Regions from separate parts of the Homo sapiens genome. Here regions 2, 3 and 4 are each linked to region 1. Evidence: promoter capture Hi-C in 16 types of primary human blood cells and fetal thymus (Javierre and others, 2016). All regions are on one chromosome and are shown on one strand. The core of a region is centred on a gene start or on the middle of the fragment in contact, and the rest is flanking DNA. Distances in the headings are between cores, read along the strand shown. Region 1 holds the start of KCTD11 (potassium channel tetramerization domain containing 11). Region 2 has its middle 12 kb from the start of ATP1B2. Region 3 holds the start of SLC16A11 (solute carrier family 16 member 11). Region 4 holds the start of FXR2 (FMR1 autosomal homolog 2).

Evidence for each region. Contacts are between HindIII fragments. The CHiCAGO score rates a contact against its expected background, and 5 or more counts as called.
Region 2: a contact is called between a fragment that was not itself captured here and the fragment with the promoter of KCTD11 in region 1, in 1 of 17 cell types (naive CD4 T cells). The highest score is 5.2, in naive CD4 T cells.
Region 3: the fragment with the promoter of SLC16A11 here is called in contact with the fragment with the promoter of KCTD11 in region 1 in 4 of 17 cell types (naive CD4 T cells, M1 macrophages, monocytes and 1 more); the score reaches 6.8 in naive CD4 T cells.
Region 4: the fragment with the promoter of FXR2 here is called in contact with the fragment with the promoter of KCTD11 in region 1 in 15 of 17 cell types (naive CD4 T cells, endothelial precursors, M0 macrophages and 12 more); the score reaches 8.6 in naive CD4 T cells.

The regions. Positions count from the first base shown.
Region 1 is chr17:7,350,435-7,353,611 of GRCh38, forward strand. It overlaps KCTD11 (potassium channel tetramerization domain containing 11), which reads left to right and starts at 1,728. Exons shown (of 1, transcript NM_001363642.1): 1 at 1,728-3,177. The coding sequence starts at 2,392. It overlaps ACAP1 (ArfGAP with coiled-coil, ankyrin repeat and PH domains 1), which reads left to right. Exons shown (of 22, transcript NM_014716.4): 21 at 516-565; 22 at 861-1,043. The coding sequence ends at 961. RefSeq lists silencers at 797-856, 927-986, 1,037-1,806. The HindIII fragment of the contact is 3,784 bases long and covers 1-3,090 here.
Region 2 is chr17:7,661,109-7,664,285 of GRCh38, forward strand. No RefSeq gene overlaps it. Among named protein-coding and RNA genes, the nearest start is that of ATP1B2, 12 kb to the left of the region's middle. The HindIII fragment of the contact is 9,601 bases long and covers 1-3,177 here.
Region 3 is chr17:7,042,842-7,046,018 of GRCh38, forward strand. SLC16A11 (solute carrier family 16 member 11) reads right to left here and starts at 1,251. Exons shown (of 5, transcript NM_001370549.1): 1 at 934-1,251; 2 at 471-678; 3 at 89-232. The coding sequence starts at 672. LOC124903909 (a long non-coding RNA gene) reads left to right here and starts at 226. Exons shown (of 2, transcript XR_007065598.1): 1 at 226-399. RefSeq lists silencers at 598-657, 728-857. The HindIII fragment of the contact is 13,319 bases long and covers 1-3,177 here.
Region 4 is chr17:7,613,203-7,616,379 of GRCh38, forward strand. FXR2 (FMR1 autosomal homolog 2) reads right to left here and starts at 1,695. Exons shown (of 17, transcript NM_004860.4): 1 at 1,250-1,695. The coding sequence starts at 1,330. It also overlaps a transcript of SHBG not described here. RefSeq lists silencers at 1,250-1,779, 1,890-1,939. The HindIII fragment of the contact is 2,190 bases long and covers 478-2,667 here.

The DNA.
Region 1 (3,177 bases), core at 478-2,977:
GCGGGAGGGCGGGCAGGGTGCAAGGATGCTTGGCCCACCCTGAGAGGCGTAATTCGCCCATCAACATTGCTGTCAGGCATCTTTTTAGCACTAGACGTGACCCCGGGGGTGGGGGCAGATGAACGGAACGCAACCCAGCTCAAAGGATGGGAAGTTGTGGGGGAGGTGAGGATAGTCTTTTTTTTTTTTTTTGAGACGGAGTCTCACTCTGTCGCCCAGGCTAGAGTGCAGGGGCGCGATCTCGGCTCACTGCAACCCCCGCCTCCCGGGTTCAAGCGATTCTCCTGTCTCAGCCTCCCCTGAGTAGCTGGGACTACAGGCGTGCGCCACCACCCCCGGCTAATTTTTTGTATTTTTAGTAGAGACGGGGTTTCACCATGTTGGCCAGGACGGTCTCGATCTCCTGACCTCGTGATCCGCCTGCCTCGGCCTCCCAAAGTGTTGGGATTACAGGCGTGAGCCACCGCGCCCGGCCAAAGATAGTGTCGTTCATTTCTTAATTCCCTCCTCTTCAGGCTACGACTGGCAAAGATGAGGGAGGCTGAAGCGGCCCAGGGGCAGGCAGGTAAAGAATACACCCACCCCACCCCCCAGGCCCAACACCTGAACTCTGGGCTTCTGGTCCACGGTGACCTCTCTCCCTAGTGCCCAGCTGCATTCATTCCGTTATTTAACAAATGCGTATTGGGCGCATGCGACGTGCCAGGCCCTGGCAAGGCATAGGTGCTGGCGCAGTGCCCGCGGCGCGCACGTTCCCACCCAGGCTCGGAGCGCGAGGTCCCCAGGTGGGCCCCAACCGCCGGATCCTGCCCTTCTGCACTGGGGCCCAGCCGCCTCCCGGCCTTTCCTCCCTCCCCCAGGAGATGAGACGTATCTTGACATCTTCCGCGACTTCTCCCTCATGGCGTCAGACGACCCGGAGAAGCTGAGCCGTCGCAGTCATGACCTCCACACGCTGTGACCCGAGGCCCACGGGGCCCGCGCCTGCCTCCCTTCCCCGCCACCGGGCCCTCTGCCATTAAAGCCTCCGTGCTTCGCTCTTCCCTTCTGGTTCACTTCTTGGGCGCCACCTTCGGGCCCGTAGGGTGTTGGGCGCTGCGGCTCCCGAGGTGCGGGGAGCAGCTGGGGGTTTGCGAGCTCCAGTCCAGCAAGGTGCGACTCCGGGGAGCGAGGCGGCAGCTTCGGCCGCGGCCTGAGCGCAGGGCGCTGCGGGGCGGGGGCTCTCGGGCTGGGGCGACGTGGCCAGCCCAGTCCTGCCGAGGGGTGGGGCTGGCCCTGGGGCTCGCTGGCCCCGCGCCGCCGCGGAGAGAGCGCGCCCGGGCCACCCCGGCTGGAAGGCATCCCCGGAATGCGGCGGCTCAGCACCCGCCCCCTCGGGAATTCCCCGGGGGAGCCGCTGGGAGGGACTCGGCTCCCGGGCTGGGCCGGCCGGGCCTCGGGCTCTGAGCGGTGGGATTAGAGGCTCCAGCCCCGCCGACTTGCAGACGTGAGATCGGGCACACCTGAGCGGCGGCGGGGCGGTCGTGGCCACATCCGGGGCGACGTGCCTGAGTCACCCCGTCCCGCCAGCGTCTGCCAGTCCAGCCAGTCCGCCCAGTCTCTCGCGTCCGAGACTCGCCTCCAGCCTCCCACCTCCGCCCGGGCCGCGCGAGCCTCGCGGGGGCGGGGGCGGGGCGCCAAGGGGCGGGGCTGTCTCTTAAAGGGCCCCGGGCCGCTGCCCTTAGGCCACTTCCTGGGGGCGGAGAGGACCTCAGCGGCTGCGGCGACACCCAGGGAAGGCGGCGCGGCCGGGTCCCGAAACTCCTGGCTGTTTCCATCAGAGCCCTCGGACACTCCCAGCCCGGGCTGAGCACGCATCGTCGCTCCCCGGCGGATACAAGGGGGCTCCGCCATCCGCTCCCGTCAGTTCGGCCTCCATCTCCTGGGACCCGCGCCGGCAGCCAGGCCAGGCCTCTGAGTGGCCCCAGAGCCCTGGCTGGACTCGTCCACGGCGGCAGCGATCTGCCCGGGGTCTCGGAGGCCATCCCTTCAGAGTCGGCCCTGTGCTCGCCACCGTCACCTGCTGGTTGGATTCCGGAAACCCACTGTCTGAAGACCACAGAGGGGTGTCGCTGACCACCCCAAATCGGATACGTCCAGACCTCAAGCTCCCTTCCCCTCTCTGGCTGCCCTCTGCTCTTTTCATCTCTTCTCTCAACCTTTTGGGGATTTCTGTGTCCTGACACCACCTCCCCATCCACCACCAAAGTAGCCGGGGTGAGCCCCAAACCTTACTGGGTGTGCTCCACCTGTGCCTCCAACCCAGCGAATCTGACAGCTTCGACCCAATTCTGCACACACCCAGGAAGTTCTGCCTTTTCTTTTCTTTCGGTGTCTCCTGTACTTCCCAAAATTTCTCCTCCTCCTGTGCCCTCTTCGCCCCCCTCCTTTGGGGGCCCCGTGACCCTGAATGTGGGGGGCACACTATATTCCACCACTTTGGAGACCCTGACCCGCTTCCCAGACTCTATGCTGGGGGCCATGTTTAGGGCCGGCACCCCCATGCCCCCCAACCTCAATTCCCAAGGAGGCGGCCACTACTTCATCGACCGGGATGGCAAGGCCTTCCGGCACATCCTCAATTTCCTGAGGCTGGGCCGCCTGGACCTGCCCCGTGGGTACGGAGAGACAGCGCTGCTCAGGGCAGAGGCTGACTTCTACCAGATCCGGCCCCTCCTGGACGCGCTGCGGGAACTGGAGGCCTCTCAGGGGACCCCTGCACCCACAGCTGCCCTGCTCCACGCAGATGTAGATGTCAGCCCCCGCCTGGTGCACTTCTCTGCTCGCCGGGGACCCCATCACTATGAGCTGAGCTCCGTCCAGGTGGACACCTTCCGAGCCAACCTTTTCTGCACCGACTCTGAGTGTCTAGGTGCTTTGCGGGCCCGATTTGGTGTGGCCAGTGGGGATAGGGCAGAGGGGAGCCCACATTTTCATCTGGAGTGGGCCCCCCGCCCCGTGGAACTCCCCGAGGTGGAGTATGGGAGACTGGGGCTGCAGCCGCTGTGGACTGGGGGGCCAGGAGAGCGGCGGGAGGTGGTGGGCACCCCAAGCTTCCTGGAGGAGGTGCTGCGGGTGGCTCTCGAGCACGGCTTCCGACTAGACTCTGTCTTCCCCGACCCCGAAGACCTGCTCAAC
Region 2 (3,177 bases), core at 678-3,177, 310 kb after region 1:
TCAGCTCGCTGCAGCTTCCACCTCTCGAGTTCAAGTGATTCTCCTGCCTCAGCCTCCCAAGTAGCTGGGATTACAGGCATGTGCCACCATGCCTGGCTAATTTTGTATTTTTAGTAGAGATGGGGTTTCACCATGTTGGTCAGGCTGGTCTTGAACTCCTGACCTCATGTGATCCACTGCCTTGGACTCCCAAAGTGCTGGGATTACAGGCGTGAGCCACTGCACCTGCCTAGCCTATACTAAGTTCTCTAAAATCTGGCAAGGCAAATAGGACCCCCTCTCCATTCTGTTGCTTATTATTTACTTATTATTTACAATTTTATTATTTATGTTATTTTATATTATTTATTTTATTTATTGAGACAGTCTCCCGCTGTGTCGTCCAGGCTGGAGTGCAGTGGCACGATTTCAGCTTACTGCAACCTCTGCCTCCCGGTTTCAAGGGATTCTCCTGCCTCAGCCTCTCGAGTAGCTGGGATTATAGGTATGCACTACCACGCCTGGCTAAGTTTTGTATTTTTAGTATAGACGGGGTTTTGCCATGTTGCCCAGACTGGTCCGGAACTCCTGAGCTGAAAGCGATTCACCCGCCTTGGCCTCCCAAAGTGCTGGGATTACAGGCGGGAGCCACCGTGCCCGGCCTCCAGTATTTTGTTTATTTATTTTTTTTGAGACAGAGTCTCACTCTGTTGCACAGGCTGGAGTGCAGTGGCACAATCTCTGCTCACTGCAACCTCCTCCTCCCTGGTTAAGAGATCCTCCTGCCTCAGCCCCCTTAGTAGCTGGGATTACAGGCGTGGGCCACCACTGCCAGGCTAATTTTTGTATTTTTAGTAGAGATGGGATTTCGCTATGTTGGCCAGGCTGTCTTGAACTCCTGACCTCAGGTGATCCACCTGCCTTGGCCTAAAGAGAGAGAGAGAGACGGAGTCTCACTTTGTCGCCAGGGTGGAGTGCAGTGACAGGATCTCGGCTCATTGCAACCTCCACCTCCCGGGTTCAAGCAACTCTCCTGCCTCAGCCTCCAGAGTAGCTGGAACTACAGGCACGTGCCACCATGCCCAGCTAATTTTTTGTATCTTTAGTAGAGACGAGTTTTCACTATGTTGGCCAGATGGTCTCGATCTCCTGACCTCATGATCTGCCCGCCTCGGTCTCCCAAAGTGCTGGGATTAGAGGCGTGAGCCACCATGCCTGGCCCAAATCCAGTATTTATTTAAACAACTAGTGACACTTACTCGTTCCTATACATTTATGATAAATTTACCCAACTCACACACACACACAATGAAAATTTGGGATTCTAATTGAAATTGCATTATATTATATTTATCTCGAGATAATTGATTTTTCTTATTTTTTTAGTTTTCCCATCTGAGAATCTATCATTTTCTTTGGATCTTGGCTTACGTCGTTAAATAAGGGTTTGTGGTCTTCTGCATACAGGCTCTGTGCCATTCCTTCTTTGTGTGTGCCATTCCTATTACACATTTCTTAATGTTTATTGCTATTGTCTTTTTTTTTTTTTTTTTTTTGAGATGGAGCCTCACACTGTTGCCCAGGCTGGAAAGCACTGGCAGGATCTTGGCTCACTGCAATCTCTGCCTCCTGGGTTCAAGTGATTCTTCTGCTTCGACCTCCCGAGTAGCTGGAATTACAGGCTTACACTACCATAGCTGGCTGATTTTTGTATTTTCAGTAGAGACAGGGTGTCACCATGTTGGCCAGGCTGATCTCAAACTTGACCTCAGATGATCCTCCTGCCTCAGCCTCCCAAAGTGCTGGGATTACAGGTGTGAGCCACCATGCCCGGCCTTATTGTCATTATTTTGAATGGAATGTTTTCTTGTTGTCTAATTTTTCACAGTGCTTCTGCTGGAAGATAAAATTAATATTTTTCTACCTACTACTTATCTGCCTTACTAAATTCTGTTAATTCCATAATATTTCTGAGTTTTGGTATACTATCCTATAATCAAAAAGGCATATATGTGTGTGCATGTATGTACGTGTTTGTGTATATATATAATATATATAATATAATATAATATATATATAATTTCCAAACATCCACTCTAACCAGAAAGAGGTATATTTACTAGTGATTTTCTTCCTTTTTTGTTCCTCTTGAATGCACTAAAACCAGAGTAGGCTGGGCACAGTGGCTCACTCCTGTAGTCTCAGTGCTTTGGGAGGCAGAGGCGGGTGGATCATGAGGTCAGGAGTTCGAGACCAGCTTGGCCAACATGGTGAAACCCTGTCTCTACTAAAAATACAAAAAATTAGCCGGGGGTGGTGGCAGGCACCTGTAATTCCAGGTATTCAAGAGGCTGAGGCAAGAGAATCGCTTGAATCCGGGAGGTGGAGGTTGCAGAGAACAGAAACCACGCCACTGTACTCCAGCCTGGGCAACAGAGCGAGACTCCGTCTCAGAAAAAAGAAAAGAAAAGAAAAGAAAAAATAAAACCAGAGTAAGTCTATATCCCCACAGTTTTTAATTTAATTAATTAATTACTTTGTTTATTTATTTTGAGATGGAGTCTTGCCCTGTCACCCAGGCTGAGTGCAATGGCACGATCTTTGCCCACTGCAACCTCCGCCTCCTGGGTTCAAGCGATTCTCCTGCCTCAGCCTCCCAAGTAGCTGGGATTACAGGTGCCTGCCACCACGCCTAGCTACTTTTTGTATTTTTAGTAGAGACGGGGTTTCACCACGTTGGCCAGGCTGGTCTCGAACTCCTGACCTCCTGATGTGCCTGCCTTGGCCTCCCAAGCGCTGGAATTACAGGCGTGAGCCACCGTGCCCGGCCAGTTTTTAATTTTTTTAAATAGAGACAGGGTCTTTCTCTGTTGCCTGGGCTGGTCTCAAGGGATCCTCCCACCTTGGCCTCCCAAAGTGCTGGGATCACAGGCATGAGCCACCATACAGCCCCTTATACTGTTCTTGATTATTTATTTATTTATTTTGAGATGGAGTCTTGCTCTGTCACCCAGGCTGGAGTGCAGTGGCACGATCTCGGCTCGCTGCAACCTCCGCCTTTCGGATTCAAGCAATTCTCCTGTCTCAGCCTCCTGAATAGCTAGGACTACAGGCGCGTGCCACCACACCCGCCTAATTTTTTGTATTTTTAGTAGAGACGGGGTTTCACCTTGTTAGCCAGGATGGTTTCAATCTCTT
Region 3 (3,177 bases), core at 1-2,500, 310 kb before region 1:
GGCCCCCGCCTCGTTCGCTACCCCAGATCCCAACAAGCTCCTGTCACCTCCTTCACCCTGAATGACCCGGGCATCCCACTTCCCTCACCAGCGAGGAGGCCCAGGCCGAGGTAGAGATGCAGCAGATCGCTGGCGAAAGCCGAGAAGACGAAGCCCAGCGAGGCGAGGACGCCCCCAACCATCACCACGGGGCGGGCCCCCCAGCGCGTGCTCAGGGCGCTGCCCACGGGGCCTGAAAGGGGGCGGAGTCAACGGAAGACACGCCCCCGGGCCCCCAAACTCTCTCCAACACTTCTCATTGGCTGTTTGCCTCCCTCGAACTAATGGTTCTTCTCCTTGACCTCAAGATGCACTCTTTTCTAGAGCCGGTTGCCCTTTCTCAGGTTGTCGGGTAATCAGGTGGGTCTCCCATCCCTCCACTCACGGCTCCTCCTCCCCGTTCCTGTCTCCCGCCTCAGGGCCCCCCTCACTGGCTGCCTGCTGCACGGCCAGGGCCAGGGCGCTGATCCACGCAGTGTCCTGGGCGCTTCGGTCAAAGTGCTCGGCAAGGTCAGGGAAGGCAAGGCCCAGCGAGCGCAGCAGCCCGTAGGACAGCCCGTTTATCGCGAAGGCTGCGGCCGCCACCACCCAGCCCCAGCCCCCATCCGGGGGTCCGGCGGGCTGGGGGGTCATCGCCGTCTGCGGGGTGGGGAAACATCTGTGAGAGAAGCCTCCACGCCTGTGCTTCCGCTGGGGAGCTGGCATCCCTGAGATCCAGCCTCTGGCTGCTCGCCCGGGGTGGGCCCGTCACTCCGAGCGCGATGGCGCGGGGCGGAGGGAGCCGGAGCCTGGCCTAGGGCTGGAACTCCCGGGTCCGCGCGAGGTACGGGGACGGGGACAGCCAGATCCCCAGGCCCGAGGTTCCCCGTCCCACGCACACTCCTTCCCCCTTACCCGACCTCTCCGGGCGGTGCGGGGAGGGGAAGGGTGAGGAAGGGCTGGGCCCGGCTTTCTCTCTGCTTCCCAGGCGGGCGGGGGCCCCGAAGGGGAGCGAGGGCAGCGATGGAGCCCAACTTGGACGGGCTCTCTCGGTAAACAGAGATCACCACAGGGGCCTGAGCCACCTGGGACGCGGGGTGTACGGAGGGCGGGGGCGAGCTGAAACAGCCAATCCGGCAAGCCGCGCGTGAGGCCAGACGCCAGTCCCACGGGGATTGAATTATGTACACACACAACCCCCAGGCCCGGGGGAGGGGGGAGCGGCGAGAAATGAATGCAGAGGGGCCCTGCCCTACTCACACGCATGCACCTGCCGCCTGCTGCGCGCAGGGGAGACACGTGGATTGCAAACCCCAGCGAGCCCAGGGTCCACCGCCAACGCGTGGAAATAGGGATGGTCCCCAAAACCTGAGGGGATGAGTAGTTTTGTTCTCAGGAACGTTGCCGAGGACCAGGTAAATCTCGGATATCAATCAGATCACAGACCTCCACCAAGTGCCAGCTCTGTGCTTAGAATAACAGACCCCCAGGCCGGGCGCGGTGCAAGCCTGTAATCCCAGCACTTTGGGAGGCCGATGTGGGTGAATCACCTGACGTCAGGAGTTCGAGGCCAGCCTGACCAACATGGCGAAACACCATATCTACTAAAAATACAAAAAAAATTAGCCGGGTGTGGTGGCGGGCGCCTGTAGTCCCAGCTACTTGGGAGGCTGAGGCGGGGAATCGCTTGAACCCGGGAGGCAGAAGTTGCAGTGAGCCAAGATCATGCCACTGCACTCCAGCCTGGGTGACAGAGAAAGACTCTGTCTCAAAAATAAATAAATAAACAAAAATAAAATAAATAAAATAAAATAACAGGTCCTCAAGGACAGAGGGATGAAACACGACTCCCTCAATGTGAAGACCTGCAGTGTACCAGGCACCGTTTACACATGCTATCACTTCATCTTATGATAACCCTATGAAGAAGGTGTCGCTTTTCTTTTTTTTTTTTTTTAGATGGAGTTTCACTCTGTAGCCCAGGCTGGAGTACAGTGGCGAGATCTCGGCTCATTGCAACCTCTGCCTCCTAAGTTCAAGCCATTCTCCTGCCTCAGCCTCCTGAGTAGCTGGGATTACGGGCGCCTGCCACCACTCCCAGCTAATTTTTGTATTTTTTAGTAGAGATGGGGTTTCGCCATGTTGGCCAGGCTGGTCTGGAACTCCTGACCTCAGATGATCCGCCCACCTCGGCCTCCCAAAGTGCTGGGATTACAGGAGTGAGCCAACGCGCCTGGCCGATGTCGTGCCTCTTTTATAGATGCAGTAACTGAAGCTCTCAGGGAAAAAATGGTATGGATATTTGAATTTAGGTCTGTCCAACTGTGGACCTACAAGGAGAACAATCCCAGGACTGAAACAAAATCTGGCACAGTTAAGGGAAAGATCCTGGATACAGCTTGAAGCAAACTGCCCTGGAAAGGGTGGAACCATTGCAGGGACAGAAAACTTATGAGTCTAAAATAAGGGGTCACTGGGAATAGAAAGGATTCTTGAGATCAGAATCTCTAAACACTTAGGTTAGAATTTTATTTTTTATTATGTATGTATGTATGTATGTATGTATGTATGTATGTATGTATGTGTGTGTGTATTTATTTATAGAGACAGGGTCTTGTCCAGGCTGAAGTGTAGTACTGCCATTATGGCTCACTGCAGCCTCCACCTCCCAGGCTCAAGCAATACTCCACCTCAGCCTCCCGAGTAGCGAGGACTACAGGCTCCACACCACCATGCCTGGCTAAATTTGTTCATTTTTTTTGTAGAGAGGGGGTCACAGCATGTTGCACAGGCTGGTCTCAAGCTCCTGGACTTAAGCAATCCTTCCACCTCGGACTCCCAAAGTGCTGGGATTACAGTCTACCATGCCTGGCCAGGTTACAATTTTAAAAGCAAAGTAAAAAATCAGGTCATTGAAGCCAGGTATTGATTTTTTGAAAAACTTTATAGAAAATGTCCTTTTTTGATAGGTTGACATTCTTTACCTCAGCTCTTTGAATTCAGAGATGTGTTCTTTGGTTTAATTATTAAACAATATGATAGAACATTCAGCAACTTAAGTTTGGAGCATGCATCCATTGAGCCACATGATGGCAGTGTTTCCTAATTATTGGGAAAGAATCTGCACGTAAAGACAAGAAAAACAGCTTCTTAAGGAGC
Region 4 (3,177 bases), core at 445-2,944, 260 kb after region 1:
AAGGGGGAAGGGGGATCCACTCTTAACAAGTGATGCCATGGGAAGGTATCTCTTCCCCAGCTCCCCAGGGTGAAATCAAAGAATGAGACAGAAATCAGGAGAGTCTCTAGGACAATTCCAGGCATCAAATCCAAGAGGTTCAGAATACCAACAGTCACACAAAGAAAAACTCTTGGGAGGCAAGAAAGGGCTCTCTCTGGCTTAATCTAAATGGGAAAAAAATGTCCTAGAAAATAGATTCAGAGCAGATAAGGAAGGTGGTATTATAAGGAGTTCTAAGGAACCAAATCCTGGGCAAAGGGGGAGGTGAAATAAGGAAGGGTCTTTGAAAGATGATCCCGTCTTCCAAAAAAGGTTGTCAGATTCCCGAACTGGGATAGTTGGCCAAGAGTCTTCAAGAAGTGGAAATCTTAAGATAAACAGAAGGGAACCTCATAAGCTTCCTTTCAGAGATCCTTTTAGAGATTATGACTATGAAGCTTACATGCCTCAAGACGAAGAAACTATATGAATGACCTGAAGGTATCTGAGGTCTAAGTGAGACCTCAAATCCATTCCTGAGTAGAATGGTAGAGCAGTGGGTCTTGAGATCAAGGTGTGGTGGGGAGAGAGACTTGCGAAAGATGCCACCTTATGGCTGGCTGGGAAGCAACTTGACTGATCCAACCCAGGGTTCCTGAGGTCAAAGATGCCAAACGTCGTAAATGGATCTGACCATTTCTCCTTGGCTTGGGAACCGGAATATAAGATGAAAGTGGGGTGAGTGTTCCAGAGCCAGTAGGCAGAGGCCTCTCTGAGGAAGATGAAAGGATCTTTTACGGGACAGAGGGCCTTCCCAAAGGGACCGTGTGGAAGAAAGACAATTCTCCATGTGCTTGGATCGTGGGGAAGATGTGATTAAGGTCTAAGGTATGTCTTCCACCAGACAACGGACACAGTCAATTAGAAGCTGGGTAAAGGGGTCTCTCCTGCGGAGCGGGGAGCGCCAAGCCAGGGACAATAATGGCCTGAAGTTCATTCTCCCGGAGATGGGGGTAGAAGCAGGTGCAGGTGCCTTAGAGGGGTCAAAAATAAGAGGAACAGGGTTCACTCTAAGCGGTCTCCCAGGGAAGGCTGCGGGTTGGAGCAAGGGTCCAAGATTCTAAGGGCCAGGACTCAGCTCCAGAAGCTCGATCCCGCCCCACGCGTTCCTGCTCCGGCCAGGGGAGGGGGCTAAGGACCGGCGTCCCCAGTCGGCGCGCCGTCTCACCTTGTAGAAGGCCCCGTTGGAGCCGCGCACCTCGACGGGCAGTCCCGGCTCCACATCCCCCCCAGAGGCCAGGCCGCCCATGGCGCCGCCACCGCCTCCGACTCCCCCGGCGGCGGCTGCAGCAGCAGTCTGAGTGCGGGCCGGGCCAGGCCCCCGGCGTCTCCCCGGAGGAGGAGCCGGAGGGGGAGCCGCGGGGGGCGGGAGCCGGGCCGGCCCCACGGCGGCCCTGCCACAGCCAACGAGCAGGGGGCCGGGGCCGGGCCGCTCCCCGTCCGCCGCCGCCGCCTTGGTCTCCGCCACCGTGAGGGAAACGGCCGCCGCCGCCGCTGCCTTCGTCACCTCAGCTTCCGCCCGCCGCCGCCCCCGCTGCTGCCTCAGTCCCGGGACCCGCTGCTGCCGCTGCCGCTCCACAGCCTCCACCTCCCCCTGCCACCGCCGCCTACTGCGCAGGCGCACCGGGCACCCGCCCGCTGCGCGCGGGGCCCCGAGGGCCACCGCGCAGGCGTCAAGGTTAGAGCCCCAGCTAGCGCCAGCTAGCGCATCGGGGCTTCCACATTCCCTTTCACTCTCTCACTCCCCCTCCTGGTCGCTTGCTAGCGCTTGCGCAGAACAAGATTAGCCTTCTTTCTTCACCGCTCCACCGCCCAGCCACCCCGTCTCTTCCTTTCCCCGCCCCACAACACTGAGAACCAACCAATCAGGGGGAGGGAGGGGCCGGGCTCGCTCAGTCCGATTGGGCGGCGTCCGCACAGTCACACAGCGCTCAGGCCACACCCACTCCGCCGCCGCTGGCCCCACCGGGCTTGGACAAGTTAGGGATGGGCATGCGCCTGAACGACTGCTTGGTCACTTTCCCCACCTTTGTCTTTCTTGGTGCGCACGCTCCAAAAAGAAAAAAAAAAGAAGAGGAGTCGCCGCAAGGAAAAAGGTGCTTGGTGCGCACGCGCTGAGCTTTACCCTCTTCGCGTATGCATCGCCGATATTTTAAGAATCTGTAACTCTCTACTGTAGTAGATTTAACAGTCATGGCTCTTACCTTGAAGAGATTGTGATACAATGAAAGTTTTGGCCGGGCGCGGTGGCTCACGCCTGTAATCCCAGCGCTCTGGGAGGCCGAGGCAGGTGGATCACCTGAGGTCCTCGGATCACCTGAGGTCAGGGGTTCGAGACCAGCGTGGCCAAAATGGTGAAACCCACCCCCCCCCCCACCCCGCATCTAATAAAATACAAAAATTAGCCGGGCGTGGTGACACGCGCCTGTAATCCCAGATACTCGGGAGGCTGAGGCAGGAGACTACCTTGAACCTGGGAGGCAGAAGTTGCAGTGAGCCAAGATCGCACCATTGCACTCCAGCCTGGGCGACAGAGCAAGACTCAGTCTCAAAAAAAAAAAAAAAAGAAAGAAAGAATAGAAAGAAAGCTTTAAGAATAGTTTCAGACGGGCGCTGTGGCTCACTCCTGTAATCCCAGCACTTTAGGAGGCTCAGGCGGTGGATCACTTGAGCCCAAAAGTTTGACACCAGCCTCAACAGGGCGAAACCCTGTTTCTACTAAAAATACAAAAATTAGGACGGGCGCGGTGGCTCAGGCCTGTAATCCCAGCACTTTGGGAGGCCGAGATCACGGGCGGGCGGATCACGAGGTCAGGAGATGGAGACCATTCTGGCCAACATGGTGAAACCTCGTCTCTACTAAAATACAAAAAATTAGCCGTGGTAGTTCCAGCTACTCGGAAGGAGTCCCAGCTACTCAGGAGGCTGAGGCAGGAGAATCGCTTGAACCTAGGAAGGTGGAGGTTGCAGTGAGTGGATATCATGCCACCACACTCCAGCCTGGGCAATGAGTGAAATTTCTTCTTTAAAAATAATAATAATGGCAGGGCGCGGTGGCTCATGCCTATAATCCCAACACTTTGGGAGGCCGAGACG